Regions from separate parts of the Homo sapiens genome. Here region 2 is linked to region 1. The links are contacts of gene promoters, found by promoter capture Hi-C in blood cells and fetal thymus (Javierre and others, 2016). All regions are on one chromosome and are shown on one strand. The core of a region is centred on a gene start or on the middle of the fragment in contact, and the rest is flanking DNA. Distances in the headings are between cores, read along the strand shown. Region 1 holds the start of PGM2L1 (phosphoglucomutase 2 like 1). Region 2 has its middle 34 kb from the start of POLD3.

Region 1 (3,327 bases), core at 805-3,304:
TTGTCCTCCTAATCACACTTTGAATTGTGACAGTCAATAGATATTTCAAATATGCAGGTACCTAGGCCCTATGCCAATGTATTGATTCAGAATCTCTGGAGGCAGTGTCCAGGAATATTAATTTAAACAAACTCCTAGGGAGATATGAGAACCACTGATCTATGGGTTTGAAATATCCTCTATCTTATTCTCAACTTGTTTATTTTGTTTCTGAAAGCCCAGTGCAGGTCCCTCCTGCTTGATGCTTTTTTCATTGACCACCTCAGATGTAAATTCATTAACAGTTGTTGGCAGCACTTGCTATTTATCATGGGCTTTCTTTTCTTACATATATCCTGTCTCCTCAGATGTTACTTCTCGAAGTGAACAATTATATAGATTCTTGTAGCCTCAGCTCCTACCATAATGCTTAGCAGAGAGTAAATGTTTAATATGTATCATGGATAATAATGGTGATGGTAGTGGAAGATGAATTTCTCTCCAGGACACGTGACTGTTGCCCAGGCCTTGTGTGATTAAAAGAACAAGAGTCCTGCTGACTCCACAAAAGAAACAATCGTTAGCAAAAACTGCAACTCCCAACTATGGCACGTTTTTCAGAAACTGGTACCACAATCCTTTTGTACCTTGGTAGTTTGAATTTTATTATGGTAAATGGCACTTTAAAGGAAATAAAGTAATACTTTGAACTTAATATGTCTTTTATCTGTGAACCTCAAAGCAGCCTAATGCCATTTATTAAGTTACTGTACAGCCATGATGTAAATATTATCATACCTTCCTTACAAAAAAGCTGACTAGGGAAAGAGTTGTAATGTACTTGCCCAAAATCATAGCCATTCTAAGAAGGCCAAACCAAGAAACGGAGGAGTAGCTAGGTGGCTGACAGGTCAGCACTTCTCAGCATTTCCCAGACCTCAACTTAGGTGAGCTTTCCATAGGAGAGACGGCTAAGAAGTAACGGAAGACTATTTCAATTTGGGTGAACCAATTTCCTTTTCCTCCGTATTCCCATTACCATTGCTCTTGGTATCTTGTGATGCTTATACATTCTTATATTTAGGTTAAATGCCGACCATCTTCCCTCAACAACTTCCTTATCTATTTTCCAGTAATCTTGTTCTCCCTACCTCCTAGTTTACTATAGCAGCAGAGATATTAGATTGGTACAAAAGTCATTGCCGTTTTTGCCATTACTTTTAATGCCATTATTTTTAATGGCAAAAACAGCAATTACTTTTGCACCGACCTAATAAAATAACTGCCAGCTGAGGGGATCTGAAATGAGATTGGAACCCTAGTTTGACCGCTCACGAACTCGGCCTCTTAGGAGAGGTGTCTCAGGGAGTCAGTTTCTTCTTTGTGTGTGAAACGGAAAAGGACTACGCCCCTGTACCTTACTGAGGGATTGAGGCGATAGAACGCGATTCGTAAACTGCACAGCACTAAACGGATACCACTTTGTCCCCTTACTATGTCATTCCTTGTTTAATTTAATGCCAGGGCCACACAGCGCAGCATAACTAATAGGGATAGGGCGTGTCTGTAGGGAACTACCTCGAGGTAGATCTTTTTCTTTTGAGGAAAGGGGGAACGCGGAGCTGCTGGGAGTCGTAGTCTCGGCGGCGGTCTCCGCTGAGCTCAGACAAAGGAAAGAACTACAACTCCCGTGAGGCAGTGCGCGGACAGCTCGCACTGCCCCTCCTCCCCCAACCGGCGCGTGCCCCCAAGAGAAACTGGGGGCCTGCGCGCGCGCTGGGGACCTGCAGGGCAAGCGCAAAGGCAGCTTGCTAGTGGTAGCCGTGAGAGCAGATCGAGGAAAGGAGACCCTTGGCAAATTAAAAAATAAAAAGAACCGTGCACTATTGCCTCACCACCCGGACGGGCTGTAAACCCCCACTACTTCGGAGGCGTGGGGAGCGCGCTCCCGGGCTCCAGTCTAGAACTTCGGGGACTTAAATCAGCAAGGGCGGGAAGGGGCGGGGCCTAAGGCGCGGGGCGGGGCCGTAGGCGGGGCGGGCGGCGGCGGCGGCGGCGGAGCCAGGACCCAGACATCTGGGACTGTTGTTCTCTCGCGGCGCGACCGCCTCAGTCACTTCGCCCAGAGACCCGGACCTGGTCCGCTGGGGAGCAGGCGGCCATAAACCCCCTCTCTCCCGGTTCCCTGACGCCGCGGCAGGAGCTGTTACGAACACCCTGCGGTTGGTCTCCGATGCCCTTCAGTGAGGTGGGGACGCCTGGACCCTGGTGAGCGAACCCCAAGCCACCCCCCACCCCAACTCAGTGTCTTCGCCGGCCCCCGGCCCGTACGCCTGTCTGGTCGCCATGGCTGAAAACACAGAGGGGGATCTGAACTCCAACCTGCTCCACGCCCCCTACCACACCGGGGACCCTCAGCTGGACACGGCCATCGGGCAGTGGCTCCGCTGGGATAAGGTGGGTACCTGGTCAGCCCGGCAAACGCCGTCGCCTCCCCCACACAGTCTGCTCTTTCCTGTGCCCACCCAGCGCCCCGCGGGCTGCAGAGGAGATGGCTCGGGACACCGAGCGGGGGGCAGCGGAGCAGGGCGTTGCCACCCACCTATGCGTGGGGTTGCTCCTTCGGACTGCCAGAGCCGGGCGGCAACATCTGCATCGCTTCCTTCTGCAGTGCTCTCAATTGTAACCTCCCTTCCTCTTCTTTACCCTCTTTCCTTTCAAGTGCTGTCTTCCCTCTTTCTTCAAAAAAAAAAAAAAAAAAATCATCATCATTGTAAGTTATACCCTAAACAACGATTTCCTTTCCCTTTTTCTCCCTTGACTTCCTTCTCCACATACCTGAAAGTGGTTTCTGGCACCCTTACTGGGCGTTTCTAACCGCTATCCGCTTTAGTTCTGGTCTGGTGTGTTTCCTCCTTCTGTCGCTAGGTAGTTGCTGGCCTTTTATCACTCCCTGGTATTGTCTAGTATCACCTTTTGCTGTTGGGAAAGGCAAGGCGCTTACCTCTTCTTTCTCCTGCTGGCAGCTATTTTCTGGAATTAATCTGTTCAAGGAATCGTGTTTTCCAGGTTTCATGTGGTACTCTTAATACAGGATTGTTTTTGCCTTAACCATTACTTCTCTACCAACACCTCCCCACCCACCCTCCGCCCCCACCTCCAAGTTGTGGTGGTAATTAAACCTCGTGCGGGCATTTGGGATGAATTTGTGACAATCAGAATTAAAATGCAGCTATCTTACTTGTAAAAGAGGTCCCTGGTAGCTCCAACAGAGGAAGATAATCCAAGCTTTTGCTTTGTCAAGTGCGTAAAATACCTTTGTTGAAGTAGAGAAGGCAGCACATTTAA
Region 2 (3,361 bases), core at 525-3,024, 160 kb before region 1:
TTTTGATGACTGTTTTTTCCAGGCAGGTTAGCTAAGCTGTTGGGAGAAGTGTGATGGATGGAAGGGGCATCATAAGTAAGAGGTCTTAAAAAACTCAAGAAAAAAAAAACGAGACTTGGAAATCTCTTCCACCCCACCTCCTCCCTGAAGTCACTCTGGCCATGGGAGTGGATGGATGAAGGTCAGAGCAGGTGAGTCACTTGCTTCCTTAACCACTGAGAATATTTTTCCCACTCTGTGCATTCAGCCTCCCCCCACTTCCCAGACATGGAGGCTTAGCTTAGGATAAGACATCATGCATCCTTTCCCAGAGACTCAATCTTCATTTCATACCTCTTTTACGTCACCTAAGTCCTTCTGGATCCTCAGGACAGGAACTGAAGCCCTGGGGATCAATGACAAGGAAGGAGCTGCTGAAAGAGGTCCCTGTCCACTGGGCAGAAGGGATCCTCCAGTCCAGAGTGCGGCTGAGCACTTGGAAGCTGGGAAGTCAGCCAGCATTTCATCTTTTGTTTTTTCCTCCTGGGGCTTCCTGTCTCAGAGGTGAATGGAGAGGGGTCATGGGGACTTCCTGGCCTCTGCAAATAAACCTTTCCATTGTCGTTGGCCAGGCAGTACTTCCAGGCCAGACAGCCCAGGTTGATGGGCAGTAACCAAAACAGCAATGCTGCCTTCAAAGGAAGCTTACCCCTAGTCCCATCAAAGGTCCCTGTGGGCTGGGCATGGCGGCTCACACCTATAATCTCAGCACTTTGGGAGGCTGAAGCAGGAGGATCACTTGAGCCCAGGAGGTCCAGGTTGTAGTGAGCCCTGATCGCATTACTGCACCCAACAGAGCAGGACCCTGTCAGAAATAAATAAATAAATAAATAAATATCCCTGCAAGAAGAGGCTATACACTGCTGAGGTGGAAAAGCAGTCATGATCGCAGCCAGAACTTGACCACTCATTGTTGAGGGGTGAGTGGGAACTAGGTGGGGGAGAAGCATCAGAGAATGTGAGGGCTGGTAGGGCCTGAGAAGTCAGCTAGTTTGTTTTCTGATGATTCCTCATACCCAGACAGTTCCTGACACGTAATAGGGACTCTATAAACATTTACTGAATAAATGAGTGGATCTAGTCCTACATTTTCATTTAAGTGAGCTGTCAGGAAAGCAAGGCCCGAAATGGAAAAGGACATTTCCCAAGGACACACAGTGAGTTAGTATCAGAACCCAGACTAGAGCTCAGGGTTCCTGAATCCCTATTCTTTCTGTTAATAACTGGGTGACAATCGGTACACAGGGGAGGGGAGCCATATTCTCCTCCTTCCTTAAGCCAAAGGAAACTGGGGACTTCAAGAAAACCACTCAGAGAGCTTGACATGTTGCACTGAAGTTTGGGAATCATAAGATATGGAGTTTGACATATTCTTGAGGAATTTAAATATTAGAGACTGAATGGAATTTGTAGGACTAGAGAGAGATGGTTGGGCTGAGAGCAAACCCTTCTCCCACTGGCCATGGGGCAAAAGCAGGTTTTTCCTAGGAACTGAGGTAGACCTGGAAGAAGGGATCTGACCTAGGATCTTCCTAAAACAGGTCTGTCCTCAAAAGAATTGCACTGAGGGCACTGGGACCCCAACAGAGAAGATGGACTGCTAAAGTTCAGGAGCCAAGCCAGAGGAGAAGCTTTGCTTCTCAAGGGAAGTATAGTTGGGGGCTCCAAGGGAGGATCCCTTAAAGGTTCCCCTAAAGCCTTTCAAAGAGATAGAATTGGTTTTGGGCATTTGTCCTGCCCAAAACAGCAACATCGTATTGTAGTTGACACTCTTTTTCCTTCATCTTCTCTCCTTCTTGGAGGCAGAGACAGACTTACCTTGAAACTAATGAAGCTTAAATTTCAGGGTTCCTCACTTACAGACCTCTTTAGTCTCACAGATTTTGTATTTGTAATTTTGTATTTTTTCCTTAAAAATATATATTATAAAATTTATATTATTTTTGTATTGATAATAAACAATTTTATACTGATGCATAAACAATTATCACAAACTTAGCCACTTATTACAAATTTATTATTTCTGCTTCTGTATACCAGAAGTCGACGTAGGGCATGACTCAATTCTCTGCTCAGGATCTCAGCAGGCTGGACTGAAAGTGCTGGTCATGTATAGGGCTCAGGGTTCTCCTTCAGGCTCACTGGTTATTGGCAGAATGCAGTTCCTTATGGTTGTAGGACTGAGGTCACCATTGTCCTGCTGGTTATCAGCCGGGGACCACTCTCAGCTCCTATAGGCCACTCAAAATACTTTGTCGCATGGCCCTCTGTTATGGACTGAATGATTGTGTTCCCCTAAAATTCACATGTTGAAGCCCTAACCTCAATCTGACAGTTTGGAGATGGGGCCTTTGGAAGGTAATTAAGGTTAAACGATGTCACAAGGGCGAGATCCTGACCCAATAGGTTTAGTGTTCTTATAAGAAGAGACACCAGAGCTCACTCTCTCTCTCTGCATACACACACTGAGGAAAGACCAAGTGAGGACACAGCAAGAAGGTGACCAACTACAAGCCAAGAAGTGAGCCTTCCCCAGAAACTGACCATGCTGGCACCCTGATCTTGGACTTCCTGCCTCCAGATCTGTGAGAAAATAAATTGCTGTTGTCTTAAGCCACTCAGTCCATGGTATTTAGTTATGGCGCCCTAGCAGACTTACATGCCCCCATATGCAGTTCACAGCACAGATGTTGCTTTCTTCCAGACCAGCCACAGTGCATCTCTCTGGCTTCCTCTTTTGCAGCCAGATGGAGAAAATTATCTTCTTTTTTGTTTGTTTGTTTTGTTTTTTTGAGACAGAGTCTTGCTCTGTTGCCCAGGCTGGAGTGCAGTGGCGCGATCTCGGCTCACTGCAAGCTCCGCCTCCCAGGTTCATGCCATTCTGCTGCCTCAGCCTCCCGAGTAGCTGGGACTACAGGCACCTGCCACCACGCCCGGCTAAATTTTTTTTTTTTTTTTGTATTTTTAGTAGAGACGGGGTTTCACGTGTTTGCCAGGATGGTCTCCATCTCCTGACCTCATGATCTGCCCACCTCAGCCTCCCAAACTGCTGGGATTACAGGCATGAGCCACCGCACCCAGCTGAAAATTATCTTCTTTTAAAGGGCTTCCCTGATTAGGTCAGGCCCACCCAAGATAATCTCTCTTGCCACTTAACAGAATGACAACAGTGATGTCACCAGATTCACAGGTTCCACCTACACTCAAAGGGGAGATTATACAAGTGCAAAGGTCATTGAGGGAGCGGGGAATAATCTTAGAATTCTGCCCAATATAAAGGAGGCTGCCCAAATTGTGGAAGCTTCAGCCCCCACAAAACCTG

The links. Contacts are between HindIII fragments. The CHiCAGO score rates a contact against its expected background, and 5 or more counts as called.
Region 2: a contact is called between a fragment that was not itself captured here and the fragment with the promoter of PGM2L1 in region 1, in 2 of 17 cell types (megakaryocytes and neutrophils). The highest score is 5.3, in megakaryocytes.

The regions. Positions count from the first base shown.
Region 1 is chr11:74,397,160-74,400,486 of GRCh38, reverse strand. It overlaps PGM2L1 (phosphoglucomutase 2 like 1), which reads left to right and starts at 2,054. Exons shown (of 14, transcript NM_173582.6): 1 at 2,054-2,436. The coding sequence starts at 2,326. It overlaps MIR548AL (microRNA 548al), which reads right to left and starts at 1,250; the gene lies at 1,154-1,250. RefSeq lists enhancers at 1,070-1,690, 1,590-1,959, 1,691-2,312. The HindIII fragment of the contact is 3,289 bases long and covers 1-3,269 here.
Region 2 is chr11:74,556,962-74,560,322 of GRCh38, reverse strand. No RefSeq gene overlaps it. Among named protein-coding and RNA genes, the nearest start is that of POLD3, 34 kb to the left of the region's middle. The HindIII fragment of the contact is 203 bases long and covers 1,673-1,875 here.